4 separate regions of the Homo sapiens genome follow, and regions 2, 3 and 4 are each linked to region 1. The links are contacts of gene promoters, found by promoter capture Hi-C in blood cells and fetal thymus (Javierre and others, 2016). All regions are on one chromosome and are shown on one strand. Each heading gives the region's core, a stretch centred on a gene start or on the middle of the fragment in contact. The rest is flanking DNA. Distances are from core to core; before and after follow the strand shown.

The links. The method cuts DNA at HindIII sites, captures the fragments that hold promoters and counts their contacts. A CHiCAGO score of 5 or more calls a contact.
Region 2: a contact is called between a fragment that was not itself captured here and the fragment with the promoter of ZNF620 in region 1, in 5 of 17 cell types (naive CD8 T cells, naive CD4 T cells, activated CD4 T cells and 2 more). The highest score is 7.3, in naive CD8 T cells.
Region 3: a fragment that was not itself captured here is called in contact with the fragment with the promoter of ZNF620 in region 1 in 1 of 17 cell types (M1 macrophages); the score reaches 6.6 in M1 macrophages.
Region 4: a fragment that was not itself captured here is called in contact with the fragment with the promoter of ZNF620 in region 1 in 14 of 17 cell types (naive B cells, M2 macrophages, M1 macrophages and 11 more); the score reaches 13.0 in naive B cells.

The regions. Positions count from the first base shown.
Region 1 is chr3:40,504,632-40,507,331 of GRCh38, reverse strand. ZNF620 (zinc finger protein 620) reads right to left here and starts at 1,293. Exons shown (of 5, transcript NM_175888.4): 1 at 1,194-1,293; 2 at 956-1,028. The coding sequence starts at 979. The HindIII fragment of the contact is 1,073 bases long and covers 1,293-2,365 here.
Region 2 is chr3:41,895,104-41,897,803 of GRCh38, reverse strand. ULK4 (unc-51 like kinase 4) reads left to right here. Exons shown (of 37, transcript NM_017886.4): 15 at 801-982; 16 at 2,240-2,286. Among named protein-coding and RNA genes, the nearest start is that of ULK4, 66 kb to the left of the region's middle. The HindIII fragment of the contact is 3,983 bases long and covers 1-2,700 here.
Region 3 is chr3:41,922,080-41,924,779 of GRCh38, reverse strand. All of the region lies in intron 5 of ULK4 (unc-51 like kinase 4), which reads left to right. Among named protein-coding and RNA genes, the nearest start is that of ULK4, 39 kb to the left of the region's middle. The HindIII fragment of the contact is 5,614 bases long and covers 1-2,700 here.
Region 4 is chr3:41,875,810-41,878,509 of GRCh38, reverse strand. The region is part of intron 17 of ULK4 (unc-51 like kinase 4); the gene reads left to right. Among named protein-coding and RNA genes, the nearest start is that of ULK4, 85 kb to the left of the region's middle. The HindIII fragment of the contact is 3,624 bases long and covers 1-2,700 here.

The sequences.
Region 1 (2,700 bases), core at 44-2,543:
AATCACGAGGTCAAGGGATCGAGACCATCCTGGCCAACATGGTGAAACCTGGTCTCTACTAAAAATACAAAAATTAGCTGGGTGTGGTGGCGCGTGCTTGTAGTCCCAGCTACTCGGGAGGCTGAGGCAGGAGAATCGCTTGAACCCCAGAGGTGGAGGGTGCAGTGAACCAGGATCGCGCCACTGCACTCCAGCCTGTCGATAGAGCAAGACTCCATCTCAAAAAAAAAAAAAAAAAAAAACCATATGGTCATCTAAATAGACACAGAAAAAGCAATTGTCAAAATCCAACATCCATTCCTATAAAAACTCTCACCAAAGTAGTACTAGAAGAGAATGCCTGATAAAGGACATTTACAAAACAAAACAAAACAAAAAAGCAAGAAACCTACAGTGAACATCAGTCTTCAGTGTGAAAGATTGAATGCTTTCACTTTAAAAGCATAAATAAGACAAAGATATCTGCTCTCACCACTTCTGTTCAATATTGAAATAATGCTTCTAGCCAGTGCAGTAAGGCAAGACAAAATAAAATAAAAGGCATCCAGACTGGAAAGAAAGGAGTAAAACTATCTTTACTCATAGATGACCTATGTAGAAAATACAATGGAATCTACAAAACAGTTACTAGAATTGCTATACTGAAGAAGTAAGTACTTCTCCAAGCCTGCGGACTAGGGTGAAAGGGGTCTTTATTGGATGTAATAATGCAGATTTCCACATTTCATAATTTTTATTTTTAAGCTGGCTTCAAATGCCAAATCCCAACCAATCCCCCCACACTCACTAGTTTTCTAGTCTTAATTTGGGCATTCTCACCTCTCCATCCCTCTCATAGTGACAGATGCACAATGGAAGCCACTGGCCTACACAACTCAAGATCTGAATGCAGAGGTGACACCTGCTCTCTCTTGACATCTAAAGGGTGGGAGGGAGGGAGAGGATGCTCACTCACCTGGCGCCAAGCGGTCTGGAACATGGCTGGCGTCCCAGCTTCACACACTGCCTCAGGGTTCGGAGAAGTGAAACTGAAGAGAAAATAAAGAAGCACCGGTGAGATTGATGCTGCCTCGCACCCCGCAAATGCCCTCTGTGCTACTTGGGCCCCTCTCCTTTCCGCCAACTCCTCACCCCAAAAAGCAAAGGGGTTGCAAAACCAGGCAGAACAAGCCCCAGGAAAACCAATCAGTTACCCGGACCGCGAACCTCTTCAGCTCGGACCGCGAATCCCGCGCGGCGCAGGCGCAGATAAAGCGTGGAAATTCCACCTGCCGCCGACACCGGGGAAAGCTTGAGACCCTCCGCCGGAAGTGCGTTTTCCATGCCCCTCCTCTCTAGGAACCTGGGAAGTTGCCAGTCTCTGTGGTTTCCTACCCCCGCCGTCAGCGCCAGTGTCCCTACTGCCTGAGACAACACGGGCCCGAGCGGGCGGCCCCAGGCAGGGGTCCTGCAGCGCCCACACCTGGTAGCTCCTTCGGGGCATGACGTCTGGCCAGCTCAGGCCACAGAATGGTTACTATCCTGGGTATTATTCGTGGTTATCTGGCATTTGCCACTCTGGGTGTCCTTCCAGATAATGAAGGGACCATCGCGCCCTTCACATGCGCCAAAACTGTCTGGATTGTGTGGGTGCGCTGCAGTGGGAAAAGTGGGTGTGGGGAAAGGCGAACCCATTACTCAGAAGGCCGAATGTGTATGGACTACGTAGGTCCAGAAACCCAGCTGCACCACTTGCTAGTTGTGTGACCTGCAGCAAGTTTCTTTGCCCCGGTTTCCTTGTCTATTAAATGGGTATTATGATGGTGGTACCAACCTCTTGAGGCTGTTCAGGGTTAATTCATTAAATTAGTTAATTGATAGGTAAATTATTTACAGTTGTGCCTGGCACATAGTATGTACTCGTGAGTTTGTATTGTTTTGTTTTCCAATTGTGTTTTTTGAAGACACAAAATAGGTGCTGCTGGGACTCCAATATGTGGCGTGCTTTAGGGAAATAGATTTTTTTAAGGACAATTTTCGAAGTTTAGCGAAAGAGCTATTAACATTTGGCTTAGAGCCCTTTCCTGCCCTGTACTGGGATGTGTGTCCCGGCCCAGCCTGGAAACAGATTTTAGTTATTCCTTCCACAGGAATTAGATTTATCCACCACTTTCAAAACAAGTCCTGCCATGGAGAGTATATTATGTATCTACTGCTGGATAATAAACTACTCTAATGCTTTGTGGCTAAAAACAATAAACATTGTTATCTTTTGACAGTTTCTGTGGACCCAGAATTCAAGAGCAGCTTGGCTGGGTGGTACTGGCTGAGGGTCTCTGCTGAGGTTGCAGTCAGGTGTCATGTGGGGCTGAAGTCATCTGAAGCTTGACTGAGTTTGGAGGATCCACCTCCAAGGTGGTTTACTCACATGGCTGTCAAGTGGGTGCTGGTTGTTGGCAGGAAGCGTCAGTTCCTTCCCATGTGAGGGTTTTCACAACATGGCATGTAGCTTTCTCCCAAAGTGAGCAATCCAAGAGGCCAAGGCCAAAGCTTTTATGACCTAGTTTTGGAAATCATGCATCATGATTTCCTCAATACATTCTCCTCAGATTAGTCATGATTCAGTGTGGGAAGAGATACACAAGGTTTGAATGCCAGGATATGAGAACCATTGGGAGCCATTGTGGGGCCACCTAGCACAGAGATTTTAACTGTCACAGA
Region 2 (2,700 bases), core at 33-2,532, 1.4 Mb before region 1:
AATTTAAAATATATTTAGGTTTAAATAAACCAGCTAAGGGTTTATATTGGTCAACTTAATTACTGATAAAAACAAAAAAGAAACTGTGTAGAAGGACGTTTTTGAAAGGCCAAGTGAAGCAAAGTATTATTAATAGTGCTTTCAGTGCCAAGTAGGACTATTTACGCAAACCTAGAGAATTATCACCTGGAAATACTATTTCCCTTTTCTTCTTTGAGTTATTTAGGAGATTATATTTACAATTTATTTTGTCTAAAGATAGAGATCAGCCAAAAATATGTTAATTTTAGGGGGTATCACATTTCCTAGATTTTGCCTTTTTTTTGTATAGGGATTTGGAGGTAGGAATTTCAGGTGATTTTTAGCTATCATGTTATTCTCGTTATTTTTTTTACAATAATTTTATTGGAACTTTTTAAGAACTGTAGGATTTGTGCTTTTCTCAATATTTGAGAGTTGATTTATTTATACAAAGGCTCTTTTGTCTTTTACTCCAGTTGTATTGAACTTTGCATTTTGTTATAGTGTAGGTTGTGGGACAGTTCTGCTTTAGACATCTGCTTTATTTGAAAGTATAGTTTTCCATTGAAGTGGTTAAAAAGTTTCCGTGGATAGATAAAGAGATTAGGAATATAGAAGGACGAATAAAAATAGTGTCATCTTTGGAGTATTTTTGGTTTTGACAGTGTAATGTTTGTCCTCATCTTAGCTGTCGTAATTCTGTGTTTATTTCTTATGTAATGTTTCCAGCAGTTCTTTTTCTCATCATATGTACTTTTATTATTTTCTTTCCATCGCAGTGGATAAGTTATTATTTCTGAAAGATCAAGATTGGAATGACTTTTTGCAACAAGTGTGCTCGCAGATCGACTCCACTGAGAAGAGCATGGGGGCCTCCCGAGCCAAGCTGAATCTCCTTTGCTATTTGTGCGTGGTGGCTGGTCACCAGGAGGTGGCCACCAGGCTCCTCCATTCCCCCCTGGTAAGCCTGTGTGACATGCCTTATGCATTTTAATTTGTGTTTTTATAGAGGCTCAAACAAGTGCTAAAATAACAATTTGATTTAACTACCACAAAAAAACTGATTTATCACGATTTTAGGTTTATGAAAATTATCCTCTGCTTAATCCTTAGGTCCTAAAGTAGATGACAGTAGATGGTGATTTTGAACTTATTTTGTTTGTTTGTTTGTAATACTCAGGTTTCCATTTTATGTTAACTTGTAAGATTTAAAAAAAAATCTGAAATCAGGCTGGGCGTAGTGGCTCATGCCTGTAATCCCAGCACTTTGGGAGGCCAAGGTGGGTGGATCACCTGAGGTCAGGAGTTCGAAACCAGCCTGGCCAACATGGTGAAACCCTGTCTCTACTAAAAGTACAAAATTAGCTGGGTGTGGCAGTGCACTCCTGTAATCCCAGCTACTTGGGAGGCTGAGGCAGGAGAATCACTTGAACCCGGGAGGCAGAGGTTGCAGTGAGCTGAGATCGCACCACAGCACTCCAGCCTGGGCAAAAAAAGTGAAACTCCATCTCAAAAAATAAAAATAAAAAAAAAGTGATATCATAAGACAGACCTTTTACCTTCTCATTAGTGACTGGAATGAACTCCCCATGTGGAATGGGTCGGGGGTGTCGGTTCCTTTACTGGGTCATCTGGTAAACTGCAGGGTTTCTGATGTGACATTGAAGGAAGACATCAATCCTCTAAGACATTTTTTTCCTCTTCCCCTGGGAATATTACTTTTTGGACTGTCTTGGTCTGTTGGTAAGCTCAAGGGAATTTGTCAGAGTTTTTTTGGTTTTTGTTTCTTTTGGCTCATGTTTAAGCATCGATTGGCAGAGTTTTTGAAGTCATCCTCAGAGAGGAATTACAGTGGTTCGGAGGTGTTTTCTATAGTGGTCCCTCATTTGGGAATTGGCTTGAAAAAATTTAAGTTCATTTGCTTCCAGGATAGTATTAAGGTTACTTTTTTTGATAGTTGGTGTGTGTCTATCAGGTAAGGGCAGTCATTTAGCGAATATAAAGTGGTAGGAGAAACTAAAAATACTGTTCTTAGTTTTTATTTTAATCTTATTCGTATACTAGTGCCTTTGTAATTTAGTAAATACCATTTTTGGTGTACAGTGTAAATTTCCTTTGTATAAAGTCCTGAGCTGTTAACTTTGCTGTCATTTTCTGTGTTTTGTGACTTAAACATTTTAATTTTTTCTTTTCTTTACACTTAAATTTCTTATTCTAGTTCCAATTGCTAATCCAGCATTTGCGGATAGCTCCAAACTGGGATATGTAAGTAACGTTTATATTTTAAAAATTATTTTTCATGACTTTATTAAGTAGTTACAGAGCACATATTTATCAAAAGCAGAGTCCTAAATAATTATCATAAATTATTCTGATGTAATGATGACTCTACTCATAGGCAATTTTTATGGGCATTCCAATGATAAATTTTAGAATATTAAAAATAGCCCTTCTCCTAATATTACAAATACAATTCTGGGATTATCTAAGGTACTCCTGGAAACTTTATTAACTGTTATTGTTTTTTTATTTTCTTAGAGACAAGGTCTCTCACTATGTTGCACAGGCTGGTTTTGAACTCCTGGGCTCAAGTGATTCTCCCATCTCTGACTCCCAAAGTGTTAGGATTACAGGTGTGAGCCACTGTGCCTGGCTAACTGTTACTGTTTTGAGTATTGA
Region 3 (2,700 bases), core at 201-2,700, 1.4 Mb before region 1:
AGGCCCCATAAATAGGACTAAAGGAAATTAAACTTTCAGGGCCCAGCTTGTATATGGTAAGATTTCATGCCCAAGAAGAAGGCTTTTAATGTCCTTAAATTGCATTCCATAGAATTATCAGTATTCTTTGAAAATGACTGTTGTGGTCTATGTTAGTAGGATATGAAGTTCTGAATTATTGTGTATAATTTTATAGAAAACAAGGTCAATGGTATATTTCAGTATAAATGCATATTTAGTAAGGGGAAGAGAGCTGTGTTTTGGAAAAATAGGTCAGACATTCTAGCAGTGATGCTTACTTCTGAACTTAATCTAAGAACAGTCTCTATGACAGGGCAGGTTAGTCTGTTTGGCCAGGGGAGAGGACGCTTTCGTAACCAGCAGGGCAGAATCAGCCCTGACCTTTTGGGATCGTGTACTTCATAGGTGGTTAACTTTTACATCCCTGTGGCATTAAGATAAAAATAGAGTGTAAAACCACTTCTGTTTTCCTGGAGACTTTGAGAATTCACTGTCTAAGTATGGCGATGAGCAAGGCACATGAAAAAAATCACCCTACCTTTTGACATATTTGAGTAGGTGGGTACTGGGGTGGGGTTGATGATTGGTCAGTGGTGGTATACAGCCATAAAGAATCTGTTAACATTGATGCTGATTTTAGGGCAAAAATTTTGGTTAGGCTGCATAAAAATAATATCGAAAAGAGCTTCTAATAAGGACATCTGGATTCTGGTTCTGCCTTTGCTTCTTTGTAACCTTCAGAGTAGTGTCACATAGCTGCTAGGAGTTTTAATTTCCTGTGTAAAGATAGGGGTTGGCTGGATCATAGTTCCCAAATTCAGGGACAGAAAAGTTATATAAATCAATAATGTGGCCTAGTGTAAGAGGGATTAATGGGGGTTATGTCAAACTACGCTCAGTTTTGGCCCAGTGTTGTTGATTGATTTAGAGAAATTAGAAATCTGGGCTGATTTATGAAAAGAGTTTCAAATTTAGAATCCTCTACCTACAGGTTAGGGTTCAGGTTCCACGGTCTGGTCCCTGATTGCCTCTCTGTTCTTGTGGCCAGAAGATTGTGCTTCACTGTCCTTCAATTGCAGGTACAACTGACCAAGGCCTCCAACTACTTGAAGAAATTCATCAGTGCTTTTGCTCTGAGGCCATGCTTCTCATGACTGCACCCAGCTAATGACTGAGCTTGGAGGGGATGCTAAGGCAGGCCTGTTCCTAGGAGACACTCTGGTGGCTGACATTGGTTCAGGGATTCTTTTTTGTTTGTTTTGAGATGAGCTCTTGCTCTGTTGCCCAGGCTGGAGTGCAGTGGCGTGATCTCAGCTCACTGCAACCTCTGTCTCCGGGTTCAAGCAATTCTCTGGTCTCAGTCTCCCAAGTAGCTGGAATTACAGGAGCACACCACCATGCCCAGCTAATTTTTGTATTTTTAGTAGAGATGGGGTTTCACCATGTTGGCCAGGCTGGTCTTGAACTCCTGACCTCAAATGATCTGCCCACCTCAGCCTCCCAAAGTGTTGGGATTACAGACATGAGCCACTGTGCCCAGCCTGGTTCAGGGATTCTTATTTTTTTTATTATTTATTTATTTATTTTTTTGAGACAGAGTCTTGCTCTTGTTGCTCAGGGTGGAGTGCAATGGTGTGATCTCGGCTCAGTGCAACCTCTGCCTCCCAGGTTCAAACAATTCTCCTGCCTCCCGAGTAGCTGGGCTTACAGGTGCCTGCCACCATGCCTGACTAATTTTTTTGTATTTTTAATAGAGACGGGGTTTCACTATGTTGGCCAGGCTAGTCTCGAACTCCTGACCTTGGGTGATTTGCCCACCCCGGCCTCCCAAAGTGCTGGCATTACAAGTGTGAGGCACCGCACCTGGCCTGGTTCAGGGATTCTTGATGATCCTGAAGAACCTTTCTTAAGACTGCATGGCATCTATCTAAGGATGCTTTCATCTAATCTTCTTTCCCTTTCTCTTTGCATGGAGTCCATCGTACATTGCAATCTGACCAGATTTTCCCATTTTTTTCTCATAGACGCTTCCTGTAATAAAATCCTTGTGTGGATAATTCTGTCTTGGTGTCTGCTTCTTGGGGGACCCAGACTAACAGTTCTCACCCCATCTCTCCCCTCACCCCCCACCTTGCCACCCCCCTCACCCCTTAACCCCACCTTTGGCTTTGTGTTCCAGCAACACCCTGTCTTCACGATTTCCTGCACTTGTTGTGTAGCTGCTCACACCCATGCCCTTACTCTTTCGGTTCTTGTTTCTTTCTCTTTCCTTCCATACTCTCCCCTCCCTTCCCTTTCCTTCGTCTTGCAGTGGCATGATCATATCTCACTGTAACCTTGAGCTCCTGGACTGAAGCGATTCCCCCACCTCAGTCTCCTGAGTAGCTAGGACTGCAGATGTATACCACCATGCCTGGCAAAGTTTTAAATTTTTTTGTAAACTGGGTTTTGCTGTGCTGTCCAGGCTGGTGTCGAACTCCAGGCCTCAAGTGATCCTCCTGTCTTGGCCCTCCAAGTAGCTAGGAGTACAGGCTTGTGCCACCACACCTAACCCTTTCTTATTTTATTTTTTCAGCTTTCTTATTTTATTTTTAACTATTTTATTTGCGATGGAGTCTTGCTCTGTTGCCTAGGCTGGAGTGCAGTGGTGTGATCTTGGCTCACTGCAAGCTCCGCCTC
Region 4 (2,700 bases), core at 57-2,556, 1.4 Mb before region 1:
TTTGCAAGGCAGGATAAATGCTTGATTGTTCCTCTTCATAGGTCAGTTTTCAGAATAAAGAGTTGGTACCTGAGAAATCTCCGTGTCTAGTGAGATTGATTTTATATTGTTAAGAACTTACAGGTGTATATATGTATATGTATATCGTCTAGTCCTTTGCAGTCATTAGTCTTTTTGATGCTTACATTGTTTCATCTCCATCCAGTGGGAGCTCTTTCAAGTTTGCTCCTTTCTCCCTTTGACATGAGCCTACTCCTGTCTCTGACAGCTTGCTGGCTTCTCGGCAGTGAGCTTTCATAGGCTTGTTTCGGGAATAGTCAACCCCTAGTTTTGAAACCACTTCTATAAGGAATCTTGTTTACTTTGTTAGAAGATGTAGTTAGAGAACTCAATCTGGGTTCTCTAGGTTTTTTTTTTTTTTTTTTTTTCCTGGTAGAGCTTTTCAGAGGTTAGATCTAGGTACTATTGTTTCTTAAAAAGAGAAAAATTCACAGTTTATTCTGCTTTTCCAATTCAGATTTTTTTATTGAGACAGAGTTTTGCTCTTGTTGCCCAGGCTGGAGTGCGACGGCGCGATCTCGGCTCACCGCAACCTCTGCCTCCCGGGTTCAAGCGATTCTCCTGCCTTAGCCTCTTGAGTAGCTGAGATTACAGGCATGCACCATCATGCCCGACTAATTTTGTATTTTTAGTAGAGATGGGGTTTCACCATGTTGGCCAGGCTGGTCTCAAACTCCTGACCTCAGGTGATCCACCCACCTTGGCCTCCCAAAGTTCTGGGATTATAGCGGTGAGCCACCACGCCTGGCTCCAATTCAGATTTAAAATTCGTTTTTACCTTTTGATTTACAATTTTTATTTTTCTTCTCATAAGCTAAAATTCCTGGCTGGGGCGGTGGCTCATGCCTGTAATACCAGCACTTTGGGAGCTGAGGTGGGTGGATCACTTGAGTTCAGGCGTTCGAGACCAGCTTGGCCAACATGGCAAAACCCCATCTCTACTAAAAATACAAAAATTAGCCGAGCATAGTGATGCACGCCTGTAATCCTGGCTCCTTGGGAGGCTGGGGCATGAGAATTGCTTGAACCCAGGAGGCGGAGGCTGCTGGGATCGGACCACTGCGCTCCAGCCTAGGCAACAGAGCAAGACTCTGTCTCAAAAAAAAACACTCTTGGCCATTAATAACATTAACATAATTATCTTTTTTTTTAGCTTAGAGTTTAGAATAGTTTAAAAATAGTACACGTATTGTTACTAACAACAAAACTACAAAGTGCATTTTAAGTACTTTTTTTCCCTTGGGATATAACCCACTGGATGATATGTACAGTCAAAACGCTGAGTTTTAAAAGCAATTTATATAATTCTTCACTTTGTACTTTTGTCACCAATATGATATATAGTTACATATGTTTTCAATTTTTTTTAGATATTTAGAGATTACTTTGTACTTTCTTTCTGGTTTGAAAATTATAATTCTTTTTTATTGAAGTGTTGGAAATACATACAAAACATAAATGTATTGCTTAATGAATTATTGCCAAGTGTGAAAACCCAATAAACTGTCACTGGGTCAAGAAACAGAACATTAAGTAGAACATTGCCAGCATACCCGGGGATCCTCTTGTGCTCTCTCCTGATCACTGTTCTCTCCCTTTGTGCCAAAGGAAGTTACCGTAACTTCCAATTCTGTCATGATTTTGCCGGCTTTTGAATTTTGTTTAAATTGAGTCATATGATATGTATACTTTGGTATCTGGCTTCTTTTATTTCATATTATGTTTATGGAATTCATCCTTGTTGCCTGTACCTGTAGTTCATTTTTATTACATGAGTATACTACATCACTGGTGATGGGCATTTGGATTGTTTTCTGTATTTGGCTATTAAAAGCCTTGCACACACATTTTGATGCACTTGCGCAAGCTCTCTGTTGGATATGTGTAGGAATGGAATTGGTAGGTTACAGGATATGTGTGTGTTCAACTTTAGGGGGTAATCTAAACTGTTTTCCAGTAAGGTTGTATAAGTTAAAATGCTTTGACTAATGAAAGAATGTTCAGTGCTCTGTATTCTCATGAATACTTGGTGTTGGCATAAAATCATGTTAAATAAGTATTTACCAGTTTCCTCTTTGTTTTTAACATTAATGGTTATTGAGTTTGGTATGGCATCAGAAGATAGGAGTATTTAATTTTTCTTCCTATCTCTATTAATAGGTGGATTATATTAATGGAATTCCTAAAAATAAATCACCTTTGCATCATTATAAGAAACAACTTGGTGCTCTCTATAATTCACTGTTGGAGTCTCTTTCCTCATGTTTTTTTCTAGAATTGTTCCTCTATTTTTTCTTGCCACATTACATTGATTCTTGGAGAGTCCAGGCTGTTTGTCCTGTTGAATATTCCACATTCCAGATTTGTCTGCTTGCTTTTTTTGGTATTGCTAACTTATTCCTCTAGTCCACACATTTCCTATAAACTGTAGGTTAGGTCTGGACGCTTCATTAGATTTAGGTTGAACCTTTTTTTTTTTTTTTTGGTAAGAACATATCATAGGTGATACTGGGTACTTCATATTTGAACTCATCAGGAAGCATGCAGTGTCAGGTTTTAATAGTTGCACCTACTTTGATCATTTGATTAAAGTAGTGCTGCCAGAGAGCTCCATTGTAAAGGTACATCTTTTCCTTTGCA